Regions from separate parts of the Homo sapiens genome. Here all the other regions are linked to region 1. The links are contacts of gene promoters, found by promoter capture Hi-C in blood cells and fetal thymus (Javierre and others, 2016). All regions are on one chromosome and are shown on one strand. Each heading gives the region's core, a stretch centred on a gene start or on the middle of the fragment in contact. The rest is flanking DNA. Distances are from core to core; before and after follow the strand shown. Region 1 holds the start of CITED1 (Cbp/p300 interacting transactivator with Glu/Asp rich carboxy-terminal domain 1). Region 2 overlaps HDAC8 (histone deacetylase 8). Region 3 overlaps HDAC8 (histone deacetylase 8). Region 4 overlaps HDAC8 (histone deacetylase 8). Region 5 overlaps HDAC8 (histone deacetylase 8).

Region 1 (2,534 bases), core at 22-2,521:
CAGCAGCAACAACAGCAAAACCAAAAGAGAAACATTAGAAAAATCAAAAGAGAGAACGAGCAAAAAAACTCTCTCTATTCTGATATCAGTTCGTGGGGGAAGACCATTTTACCGCGCCTCCCTCTTCAATCTGGGAGCTCCCCCAGAAGAGGCCCTGTGTCCATTCAGATCTTCTGCCTTCCATTACTGACCCACCACCCACCCTGACCCCAGCCTGGGTCTGCGCTCAATAGGCGCTCAGTAAGTGTTGTTGAATGCGTCTGAAGAAGCAATCGCATTTCCATCGGCATCCCTGGCTCTGCTTCCCCGGCTTTCTGCCCTCCTCCACCACCCTCTAGCCCGTTCGTGGGCAAAACTTGGCAACGCGGAAACGTCCCAGCCCGCTCTCCAAGCCGCGAGCTGACCACTGCGAAACGGCTGCGACAGGCGGCTGGGAAACCTAGAGCAACAAGTGCCTTCTCGCCGGCTGATGCCTGGCGGCCCCCCGGCCACCAGTTCCCAGTCCCGCTGCCCGCTCTTCGCTTCAGGCCTTCCCTTGGGCGAGCAGCCCCCTCCCGCCTAGACAGGGGTGGGAAGGGGAGAGGGAAAAGAGAAGGGAGAGGCAGGTGGGGGCCTCATCTTTAACCTGTTGGGGGACCAAAAGTTAAAATGGCACCAACCGGATGGTTCCATCTCGATTGCTATTTTCTCACTCAGAAGGAGAAATTTAAAAATCCAAACAGCACTGCGGCTTGGCTTGGACGCGCTCTAACCAGACCAGTCAGTTTCGCCACCTGAAAACTAAAGGCCCGTTGTTTGCGGACAGCTCGGCTGCCCTCCTCGCCGCATCCCAGATGGAGCCGCGGAACCGGGGGCGGCCGGGAGCATCCCTTGCACGGCGGGCGCGTGCACCCAGGCCACCGGGGCCCTGAGCGTCCGTTCCCGCAAGTGCTGTATCAGGAACTGATCTTAGAGACAGGATGGACAGGCAGGAAGGGGCACGGGGTGTCGGCCTCCGCGGCGAGTCCGCACTCCGGCGCCGGCTGCTGCCACTCTCGCGCCTGATCAACACTTACTGAGCGCCCGCTGAGCATCCGACGCGGCAGCAGGCTGAGCCTACCCCCTAGCCAAGCCGCCTGCGGTCAGTGCTAAAACCCCGCTAGGAGAAGAGTGAGAGAGGCTCGGAGAGGTGCGGTAACTTGCCCAAGGTCACAGCGCTAGAAAGTGGCGGAGCCGGGATTCGCAGCCAGGTCTCTCTGACTCCAAGTCCGGTGCTCTGCGAAGCAGGGACTCGGCGCGCGGCTCGCCAGCCCGCGTTTATAGGGAGAGGGGTGTGCGCGTGGGTGTGTGTGTGTGGGCGTGTGTCGGGGGAGGGGAGGGCTGAGGTCGACTGGGCAGTAGAGGCAAGTTGCCCAAATTCGCTAACTTCCATCCCGCAATTCCGCTGAACTCGGCCCGAAAAGCCCCCTCTTGCCTCAATTCCCCGAAGTAAATCTGAGCTTTGTGCAGCTCCGGAGCCAGAGCGTCCAGATGCGGTCCGGGAGATTAGCAAAGTCGGTGGAAGCCAAGCTGGAGAAAGCGCGGGCGCAGGGAGAAAAGGTGCTGCCGTCTCCCCGGGAGAAGCGGGCACCCGGCCCCGCTGGCCGGCAGGGGGGCGCGCTGGCAAGCGAACCCGAGCGCTGGCGGGCGGGCGGGCGGGCGGCCCCTCGCCCCCAGCAGAGCAGCTTTCCAACAGAAAGCAAGTCTCCCCAGAACCCTCCGGCCCGCCTGGCGGCCGCCCACTCCCCATACCCGCTCCACGGGAGTCCTCGGCCCCGCCGCCCAGCCCGGCGCCCAGCCCGGCGGCCCGGCTTACCTCTGAGAAGCCGCCTGCCCTGGAGAGAGGGAAGCGCGGAGCTCGGTGAGCCGCAAGAGAGGCGGCGGAGCCCCCAGCCCCTGGCACGCACGCCGCCGCCACCGCTACCGCGAACCGGTCGCGCTCAGCGCCCGCGGCCGCGCCGTTGGCCACCCGACCCCGGGGCGCCTGGGAAAAGCCCGCACCGCGCCGCGCCGCCGCTGCACCGCACAGTGCCGCGCCAAGCAGCCCCTGACCGAGCTGGTGCCCGCCCGCCCGCCCGCAGCTTCGGCGCCGGACTCCGGGGCGGTGGCGGTGGCGGCCACCGCGCTCCCTTCCCGGCGCTGGGGACCCGGCTCTCAAGCCCCCATTGCCGCCCGGAGAGCCCTGACGCACACGCACACGGCAGCAGACTGGCCTCGGCTAGGAATCCCAGGAAGGACAGACCCTTTTTTTCCCTTTTTTTTTCTCCCCTCAATTTCCACGTCTTTATAACCGGCTTAGGGCATTATTAGCACATGTCCTGGCTCGTGGGCGAGTTGGTGGCAAAATCTGAACTGGATACTCACGGAGGGCCCGCGCGGGTGCTGTGCCGTCCGCTGCTCTCTTCCTCCTCACCGAGAACTGCCCCTCGCCGGCGGACTACAAGAGGGCAGCCGGGCAGAGCGAGCTTCCTCTCGGCAGCTCAGCGGTGCCCCTTCTGCAGCTTTGCCGCCGGGCA
Region 2 (2,534 bases), core at 12-2,511, 210 kb after region 1:
TTCAAGTATACAATAAAGTTATTATTATAGCCACATTGTTGTACATTAGCTTTCCAGAACGTATTCATCTTGTGTACCTGAAACTGTATCCCCTGACCAACATCTCCCCATTTCCCCCTTCTCTACCCCTGGTAACCGCCATTCTTTTCTCTGTTTTTGAGTCTGACCTTTTTAGATTTCACATATAAGTGAAATCACGTGGTACTGATTTAGCTCATTTAGCCTAATGCCCTCCAGGTTTATTCATCTTGTCACAAATGGTAGGACTTCCTTCTTTTTCAAGGCTGAATAATATTCCATTGTGAATATATACTACATTTAAGAAATAATCTTGAGGAAAACTGGGCTTACTTAACAGCAGGGCATGGATAACAAGAAGCCCCTTCCCTTCCTTCCTCCCTCAACATGCAAATTTGTATTGAGTACTCTGTTCTACACTCTGGGAATAATGATGAACAGGACAGATAATACCTCATTCTCAAGGATCTTTCAGTGTGTGTGGGGGGGGGGTGGGGGGGAAGTATGTGGAACAGATGATAAATAGGTAAGCAAACAACCAAATAAGAAAACAGCCCTATTGTGACAAGCAATGTTGCAAAGATAACACACAGGAATGTGATAGAGCAGTGGGGTGTGTAGGGCTTAGATAGGTCAGTCCAGTGAAAGCTTCTCTGAGGAGGTAGCATTTAAATAGAGACCCAAAAGGTGAAAAGAAACTCATCCATACTGAGATGGAGAAGTCTTCAGGACTTTTTGGACATACTTAATGAAAAGTTCACTGGTCTATCACTTTTTAAAAGTGCAGAGGGACTAGCACTGCAAAAGGTCTGAGGCAGGAAAAAACTTCCCTGGTCTGAGAAGCTGAAAGGCAGCCAGTATGGCTGAAACACAGGTAATGAAGGACAGGGGTACAAGAAGCTGTCTGATGGGACATCACAGGGGCTTGTAGGCCACTGCAAGGAGTTTGGATTTTACTTTCAGTGAGATGAGAAGCCATTGGAGGGTTCTGAGCAGAGAAGGGATGAGATCTGATGTAAACTATCTTTTAGTCTATCATTAGTACCAGGCAGAATGGGCTAAACTGCATCAGGAGAAATTTATTAACAGTAAGACAGGAAATTTGCGAGACAGAATTGTTGCCAAGAAAGGTTAATGAGTTTAGTTTAATGGTATAAAGCTAATTTCTTGGTGTGACTTAACAAGTAGCCAGAAAGAGCTTCTTTAGCTTTCTTAAGGTTGTCAACTTTGGCAATTTACCTGTAGTGTCACAGTCACCGGGAAAGCTGAGGCTCATATTTAAATCTTCTGATTCTTGTTTTTTTTTTTCACTAAGTTAATTGCATCTAATTGTTTACAGCAAAGCAGTAAAAGATGGCAAAAAGTAGAAATACAGCATTCCCTTTCTTAAGGGCTTCTGAAAATTCCATCTTTCTCTGTAAGAACCTGCCTGAGTACTTACGAGTTTAGCATGTTTAGTTTCCTCTTAGCATCTGACCCCTTTCTGCCATTTTCTCTGCTTTCAAAGCTAGGACAGCCAAGTGCTTTTGGAAAAAAACCCACAAAACTATAACTGCAGACACACATTAAACACTTATGGTTCCCATCACAGGTGGGCCTTCAAGGATGTTCAGCACTTCTTCTAATTGTCTTTTTCTCATTCATTACAGTGGACATTATAAACTTACTAAGAACAAAGACTCCTTGCTTAAAATTCCGTCGCATTTAGAATAAAATCCAAAGCCCCATGGTCCATAAGGCCTTGTATGATGTGGCCTATGGCAACTTCTCTGTCCTCTTGTGCCACTGTCCAAATTACTCACTTTGCTCCAGGCACACTGGCTTTCTTGTTGTTCCTCAGAAGCTTCTAATGGATAATGGCGTGCATTTGCAGTTATATGGTTTGCTTTTGAGGAACTGCCAAACTGCTTTCCAAAGTGGCTACACCATTCTACAGTCCCACCAGCAATGTATGAGGATTCTAATTTCTCCATGCCTTCATGTACATTTGTTATTATCTGACCTTTTGATTCTAGCCATCTTAGTGAAGTGGCATCTCATTGTGGTTTTAATTTGCATTTTTCTAATGACTAATGATGTTGAGCATCTTTTCAAGTGCTTATTGGCCATTTATATTTTTTTTTGGATAAACATCTATTCAAATCTTCTGCCTATATTTGAATTAGGTTATTTGTCTTTTCATCATTGAGTTGTAAGAATTATTTATATATTCTGGACACATCTCTGATCAGAAATATAATTTGCAAATGCTTTTTCCCATTCTATTGGTTGTATTTTCACTTTCTTGATGTTTTTCTCACTTTCTTTGAAGCCCAAAAGCTTTTAGTTTTGATGGTCAATTTATCTATATTTTCTTTTTTTTTGTACTTTCTGTGACATATCTGAGAAAGCTTTGCCTCACCCAAGGTCATGAAGACTTACTCCTATGCTTTCTTGTAAGACTTTCACAGTTTTAGCTCTTACATTTTGGCCTATGATCCATTTGGAATTCATTTTTATGTATGGCTTGAGGTAGG
Region 3 (2,534 bases), core at 18-2,517, 190 kb after region 1:
TTGTTTAACCAAGTTGAGTCGTTATTCTGACAAACTTTATTTCAACAGTAATTATGTTTTGCAGTATATCAACTTGAAGATAATTTATAAAATCTTTAGGTAACTAAAAACTTTGAGCTGATACTAAATTGAATTAATGAATATTCATTACATACCTAGACCATTTCTAAGTAAGAGAATGCTGAAATATTAATTACTACATATAATTTTGTATGCTTTTGCTTCTTATTTCTACATGCTGCAGAAAAGTTATGTATACTTGGGCCTGGTAATGAACATGCTATTTTTTGCCAATTAAAGAAGTTGTTATAAAGGATGCATATAGATATAGAAAGTTGTAGAGGGATCACAGAAAGGGAATTTTATTTGTTGAGGTGGCTGGCTAAGGTTTGATGAGTTGATTTACAATATTTCCAAAAAGAACTTTAGTATCAAATATTCTGATGCAAAGCTAGAATTTGGTTTCCTCACTGTTAAAATGGCAAAAAAAAAAAAAAAAAAGATTTGTTCTTTCACCTTATTGAAAGAGAAGTGCTAGAAAGAATTAGATTTATTCAATATATTACTATTGAGGAGTTGCATGGGAAGAGTTGTCAAATCAGAACAGATGCTTTGCTTTTTCTAGGTTAAATTGGTATAGGAAAATGTTATTAGCATAAACATTTTAGAAATTGTATGCTGTATGGAACGTTTCTACAGATTCATTAGTGCTCTCACTGGCCGAGATATGTCAGAATCCTGATGCTGCTTTGCTAGATATTAGATAACTATAGTATAGTGTTTTCAGTAATAATTTCAGCTTTTTAAAATGTTAACTTGGTCTCCACATTGCTTCTTTGTTTTGAATCTAGCATTTTTCCAGTCATTAGTTTTCAACTGGGGATTCACATCATTTACCTATGAAATTCTGTTAATATACACATGTTTAAGAACTATTCCAGATTACTGAATCTCTTTACTTGATGTTCTTGATATATTCTGGGTATATTCAACCTATATGCTTGGTATATTGATGATATATTATGTCAGGATTATTATATGTTATATCTGAGTCTTTTTTCTCTATAAAGATGATGTTCATGCATTTTTATAAATTACATATAATACCCTCTCTTCTTTGAAAATAGGATTTCTACAGTTTGGATATTTGGCCTTCCAAGCCTCATGTTGAAATTTGATCCCCAGTGTTGGAGGTGGGGCCTAGTGGGAAGTGTTGGGTCATGGGGGTGTATCCCTTACAAATGGCTTGGTTGTGATCTCACAGTAATGAGTGAGTTCTCACTCTATTAGTTACTGCTAGAGTTCCCCTGGGAGCTGGTTGTTAAAAAGAGCCTGACACCTTCTCCCTCTCTCTTGCTTCCTCTCTCACCATGTGATTTGCACATGTGGCTTCCCTTTACCTTCTGTCATAAGTGGAGGCAGCCTGAAGCCCTCACCAGAAGCAGATACTGGCACCATGCTTCTTGTACAGACTGAAGAGCTGTAAGCCAAATACCTCTTTTCTTTATAAATTACCCAGACTCAGGTATTCCTTTAAAAGAACACAGATGTACTAAGACAAGGGCTAATCATTATGTATATAGACATTTTTGTCTGGATCTGATAGACCTCTACAGAACTCTCCACCCAAAAACAACAAAATATACACTCTTCTCATTGCCACATAGCACTTACTCTAAAATCAACCACATAATTGGACATAAAGCAATCCCTAGCAAGCGCAAAATAACTGAAATCATACCACCAAATACACTCTTGGGACACAGCACAGTAAAAATAGAAGTCAAGACTGAGAAAATCACTCAAAGCCATGCAACAAAATAATTACATGGAAACTAAACAACATGCTCCTGAATAACTTTTGAGTAAATAATAAAATTAAGGCAAAAATCAAGAAGTTATTTGAAACTAATAAGAAAATAGATACAATACACCAGAATCTCTGGGAAGCAGCTAAGGCAGTGTTAAGAGGGAAACTCCTAGCACTAAATGCCCACATCAAAAAGGTAGAAAGATCTCAAATTAATAACTTAACATTGCAACTGAATTAGAGAAGCAAGAACAAATCAACCCCAAAGCTAGCATAAGACAAGCAAAATCAGAGCTGAACTGAAGGAAATTGAGACATGAAAAACCTTTCAAAAGATTGATGAATGCAAAAGTTAGATTTTTGAAAAAATTAATAAGATAGGCCGCTAGCTAGACTAATAAAGAAGAAAAGAAAGAAGATCCAAATAAACACAATTAGAAATGATGAAGGGAATGTTACCACTGGCCCCACAGAAGCAAAAATAACCAGCAGAATCTATGATGAACACTCTATGCACACAAACTAGAAAACCCAGAAGAGATGGATAAATTCCTGGACATATACACCCTCCTAAGACTGAACCAGGGAGAAACTGATACCCTAAACAGACCAATAATGAGCTCCAGAATTGAATCAGTAATAAATAGCTTTACCAACTAAAAAAAGCCTGGCACTTGATAGATTCACAGCCAAATTCTACCAGATGTATAAAGAAAGCTGGTAG
Region 4 (2,534 bases), core at 22-2,521, 180 kb after region 1:
ATTTTCCAGAACAACAGGTAATTTTACATCTGCCATACCCCGGAGAGGCAGGATAAAAGTTTATTAAATAGAACAAAAGCATTTAACACAAATACCTTACTTACAGAGGGCTGAGTTCAAAGTGCAAGGCTTATAGAATGAATTAGCAGCTTCTGTTACCTTAATCACTGGGCGACAGTGAGCTAGTGATTATCAAGGTAGTGTAGCTGTGACCCAACTGAAGAGAGGTAGAATAAGTTTGTAAAGAATTTTTTATCAGTTCTTAGATTGTAATGAAATGGGGAATGTATTAGCTTGTGCTCATGCTGCTGTAAAGTCAGGAAACAACAGATGCTGGTGAGGCTGTGCAGAAGTAGAAATGCTTTTACACTGTTGGTGGGAGTGTAAATTAGTTCAACCATTGTGGAAGACAGTGTTGCGATTCCTCAAGGATCTACCAGAAATACCATCTGACCCAGCAATCCCATTACTGGGTATATACCCAAAGGAATATAAGTCATTCTACTATAAAGACACATGCACATGTATGTTTATTGCAGCACTATTTACAATAGCAGACTTGGAACCAACCCAAATGCCCATCAATGATAGACTGGATAAAGAAAATGTGGCATATATATACCATGGAATACTATGCAGCCATAAAAATGAAAGAGTTCATGTCCTTTGCAGGGACATGGATGAAGCTGGAAGCCATCATTCTCAGAAAACTAACACTGGAACAGAAAACCAAACACTGCATGTTCTTCCTCATAAGTGAGAGCTGAACAATGAGAACACATGGACACAGGGAGGGGAAACTCACACACTGGGGCTTGTCAGGGGGTGGGGAGCCAGGGGAGGGAGAGCCTTAGGACAAATACCTAATGCATATGGGGCTTAAAACCTAGATGATGGGTTGATAGGTGCAGCAAACCACCATGGCACATATATAACTATGTAACAAACCTGCACGTTCTGCACATATATCCTAGAACTTAAAGTAAAAAAAAAAAAGACTAGGTAATTTATAGAGGTTCTGCAGGGCTGGGGAAGCCTCAGGAAACTTACAATCATGGCAGAAGGGGAAGCAAAGATGTCCTTCTTCACATGGCGGCAGGAGGAAGGGCAGAGTGAAGGGGGGAAAGCCCCTTATAAAACTATCAGATCTCATGAGAACTCACTATCATGAGAACAGCATGAGGGAATTGCCCCTATGATCTAATCACCTCCCATGATTCCCTCCCCCAAAACGTGGGGATTACAATTTGGATTACAATTCAAGATGAGATTTGGGTGGGGACACAAAGCTAGACCATATCAGGGATGAAGATGGAAGGCTAAATAATTACTTGTTCTCACATGCAAATTTCTAGAGGGTTCATCCCTTCTCATCAAATGAAAGAGAATTTTAAAAAATTTGTATCGCTTAAAATAGTTATTTATGAATATGTGTGTGTATGCATTGCTTTTGCCACATCACCAGGCCTAAAGGAGTAAATTACACTTTTTCGGCTCTCTTTCACTGAAGATCTACCTGCTTCCTTTTTTTTTTGTTGTTGAGACAGAGTCTCACTCTGTCATACAAGCTAGAGTACAGTGGCACAATTTCAGCTCACTGCAACCTCTATCTCCCAGGTTCAAGTGATTCTCCTGCCTCAGCCTCCTAAGTAGCTGGGATTATAGGTGCGCACCTATAATCCCACACCTAGCTAATTTTTGTACTTTTAGTAGAGACGGGGTTTTATTATGTTGGCCAGGCTGGTCTTGAACCCCTAGCCTCAATCAATCTGCTCACCTTGGCCTCCCAAAGTGCTGGGATTACAGCTGTGAGCCACCTGTGCCCAGCCCTACCTGCTTCTAAAATTGAATGATAACCTGGAGTCCCAGGTGGAAGATAAATTCTAGATGACTTATTATAATGAAAGAAAAACCTATCATAATTAAAACATCTCTTCTTTAAATATTAACAGTAAGTCAATAGTGAAAGGAAACACTTCCCTTAAATGCCCTTTAGTGATGTCCCTTGGTCCTCATTTTATTCAACTGGTACTGGTTGAACAGCTTAGCATGGATGGAGAATCTCTACCCTTTATGCAGATATGGCCTTCCACAAGGACCAAGAGGTGGTATAAATTTTGCCTATAGTTTAAAAATGCATGATGTTAAAAATTTTTAGCTATACTCATCTAAAACAACCACATGAAAAAGATGTAATTCCATGAGAAGACCTCTGTAAAATGACAGGGGACACTATTCACTTTCTAAAGTAGGAAGTCAGGATTTTCTCCATTGAAAATGAAGGGAAAGGTGGTTTTACAGAATCTGCATGTTTACAAACTTTAGGAATTGAAAACCTAAGAAGTTAATTCTGGCAATATTTATCCTTGTTTTCTATCTATAAAATTACAAATTAAATCCTTGAGATTAAACAATTCTTTTTTGGGCAAAAATCTAAGTTGCACTTACACAAACAAATACAATGGATTGCATATACTGTGGATCATGTGGTTCATTTGCATAGTTAAATGGTTTCTATTTTGGGGGGGGGGATT
Region 5 (2,534 bases), core at 18-2,517, 150 kb after region 1:
ACATGACCAAGCAGGGTTTATTCCAGGAATGCAAAGTCAGTTTAACATTAAAAAATCAGTGCAATTTACTGTACTAACAATAAAGGAGGATACCATATGATCATTTCAATAGATGAAGAAAAACATTTGACAAAATCAGTACTCATTTGTGAGAAAAAAAAAAGTCTCAGTAAATTAGGAATAGAAGGGAACTTCCTCAACCTAAAAAAGAACATTTTTGAAAAATCCTACAGCTAATATCACACTTCATAGTGAAGATTAAGCACTTTCCCCCTGTGACTGGGGACCAGATAAAGATATTCACACACCATTTCCACTCAGCATTGCACTGGAGGTCCCAACCAGTGAAAAAGGTGAGAAAAAGAAATAAAAGACATGAAGATTATACAGAAAGAAAATTCTCTTTATTCACAGATGATGTTTGCATACATGGATTATGCTAAGCAATCTACAAAAAAGTTACTAGAGCTAATAAGTAAATTTAGCAAGGTTACATTATTCAAGATCAATATGAAAAGTCAATTGTCCTTCAATATTCTGGCAACAAACTATTGGAAATTGAAATGAAAATACCATTTACATAGGATCAAAATAATGAAATACAGTACTTAGGGATAAATTCAATAATATTTGTGTAAGATGTGTTTACTGGAGAGTACAGATTATAATTTGGAATTAAAGAAGACTCAAGTAAATAGAAAGATAAATTCATGGCTTAAAAGATTAAATATTGTTATGATGTTACTCCTGCACAAATCAATCTATAGATTCAGTGCCATCTACAGGTTACAGTGCAAGAAGGCTGTTTTTTTATTAGTAACATATACTTGTATATAAATTGACCTAATTCTTTTTAATGGCTACATATGTTCCCTAATATGAATGAGGTACAGTTTAATCAGTCCATAAAAAGCAGTCTGGTTAAGTAGTGTTAATATTTTCCATTAGTAAACCTATGTGATGATACACATATACATACACACACACACACACACACCCCAGCCCTACTCTATCCTAGATAAGTCACGGGATCTAAATAGTAGTACTGGACTATAGAACATTTTTATACATAATAATCCATGTGATTGTGCTAAATTTGCCATGTACTGGTCTTTTCATGGTACCATGACACCTTTGGGCTTTCCCTATGGTAGAGATATCTGGGCCAATCATACATACAAGCTCCATTCTTCTCAGCTTTCCCAGCTGGGACTGCTTGGCTGGCCAACCTGGCTCCCCAGTGCTCTGGCTGAAACTAACTTCCTCATCACTGGCTTTATGCCATCACTGGCCTTATGGCATCACTGGCTTTATGGTATCACCGGTTTTATATTTTATGAGCGCTATACTTGAAGTCCTACCCTTATCACTTCTAATATTTGTGCTGGGCTTCTGCCTTCTGAACTCCATTCCCTGCATTGGTAATATAATGTTCTCCCATGGATACACCTGTTTCCTATAGCTGGGCTACCTGATACCTCTTGCAAAGGATGGAAAGTTGCTATTAAGGTTAAATTGGGTTCCCAGAGAAAGGCTAGATTACGCTTCCAATTCTTTCATCTTAAAAAAATAGAAGTTTCCCAATATGAATATTGAGACACTTACTCAAACACTCATTTATTCAACTAGGTGGTGGCTACTTAACACTCAGCTAAGCACTAGGGTTGGGGGCGTGGTGCAGACAACCAAAACAATGATGACCAAATGAATGGCACAGACTGTAAGTGTTATAGGTATATATTTGAATCTCTTAACAGGTCTGCGTTTCTCAAGTCTCTCCTCTTTGCAATCTATCTCTACCAACTGAGCTTTTTAAAAGTTAAAGCTCATTTGTTTTCACAGAAAAAAGTGTAAGCTCTTTAATGTAGCATTCAGGGCTCTTCATAATCTGGCCTTAACTTCCATTCAAGCCTTAATCCTTCCTACTGTCTCTCATATACCCTGTAATCTACACATAGCAAATTTTTCACTGGTCCCATGAGGCACCAGTCCCTTTCTGATCTTTGTTCCCTCTGCCTAGAATGCCTTTTTCTTCTTCTTCACCTAGCGAACTCCTAATCAGCCTCTAAGAGTCAGTTCAAAGTCTTGTTGAAACATATCCCCTATGGTCCTCATCTGTCCTGGATGTGAGCACATTGTTCTGTCACCTTTATTAGATCGTGAGATTTTGGAGGGCACTGGGATTATCTCATTAGTCTTTGTATCTCTGAATCCAGGTCTCAATAAGGCCTGGCAAATAGTAGGGGCCCAACACATAATTGTTAAATGAAACAAGGAATAAATGAACGTGAAGGAAGAGCTCAAAGGGGATTGATGTATTTAGGTAAGGGTTTTTGAAGGGCACAGGACTTGAAGCTGGACCTAGGAAGATAATAGAGAAGTAGGGAACGGGCATTTGGAGGAGGAGGATTATTACCCTAGGAGATGAAAGAACTAAAGCCCAAGACTGAGAGCGAAGAGAGTGAGGTCAGCCCGGCTGCAACTGACCACTGCATTATCTTGACCTTTTCACCTACTAGATTTCTTGATTATAT

The links. The method cuts DNA at HindIII sites, captures the fragments that hold promoters and counts their contacts. A CHiCAGO score of 5 or more calls a contact.
Region 2: a contact is called between a fragment that was not itself captured here and the fragment with the promoter of CITED1 in region 1, in 5 of 17 cell types (megakaryocytes, endothelial precursors, M1 macrophages and 2 more). The highest score is 9.6, in megakaryocytes.
Region 3: a contact is called between a fragment that was not itself captured here and the fragment with the promoter of CITED1 in region 1, in 1 of 17 cell types (megakaryocytes). The highest score is 5.8, in megakaryocytes.
Region 4: a fragment that was not itself captured here is called in contact with the fragment with the promoter of CITED1 in region 1 in 1 of 17 cell types (M1 macrophages); the score reaches 5.5 in M1 macrophages.
Region 5: a fragment that was not itself captured here is called in contact with the fragment with the promoter of CITED1 in region 1 in 1 of 17 cell types (megakaryocytes); the score reaches 5.5 in megakaryocytes.

Annotation. Positions count from the first base shown.
Region 1 is chrX:72,304,643-72,307,176 of GRCh38, forward strand. It overlaps CITED1 (Cbp/p300 interacting transactivator with Glu/Asp rich carboxy-terminal domain 1), which reads right to left and starts at 1,272. Exons shown (of 3, transcript NM_001144887.2): 1 at 1,183-1,272. LOC105373250 (a long non-coding RNA gene) reads left to right here and starts at 1,460. Exons shown (of 3, transcript XR_938441.2): 1 at 1,460-1,578. RefSeq lists a silencer at 2,257-2,534 and an enhancer at 2,278-2,327. The HindIII fragment of the contact is 8,247 bases long and covers 1-2,534 here.
Region 2 is chrX:72,515,088-72,517,621 of GRCh38, forward strand. All of the region lies in intron 4 of HDAC8 (histone deacetylase 8), which reads right to left. Among named protein-coding and RNA genes, the nearest start is that of HDAC8, 56 kb to the right of the region's middle. The HindIII fragment of the contact is 1,195 bases long and covers 665-1,859 here.
Region 3 is chrX:72,497,684-72,500,217 of GRCh38, forward strand. All of the region lies in intron 4 of HDAC8 (histone deacetylase 8), which reads right to left. Among named protein-coding and RNA genes, the nearest start is that of HDAC8, 74 kb to the right of the region's middle. The HindIII fragment of the contact is 4,771 bases long and covers 1-2,534 here.
Region 4 is chrX:72,480,082-72,482,615 of GRCh38, forward strand. All of the region lies in intron 7 of HDAC8 (histone deacetylase 8), which reads right to left. Among named protein-coding and RNA genes, the nearest start is that of HDAC8, 91 kb to the right of the region's middle. The HindIII fragment of the contact is 7,840 bases long and covers 1-2,534 here.
Region 5 is chrX:72,457,017-72,459,550 of GRCh38, forward strand. All of the region lies in intron 9 of HDAC8 (histone deacetylase 8), which reads right to left. Among named protein-coding and RNA genes, the nearest start is that of HDAC8, 110 kb to the right of the region's middle. The HindIII fragment of the contact is 5,146 bases long and covers 1-2,534 here.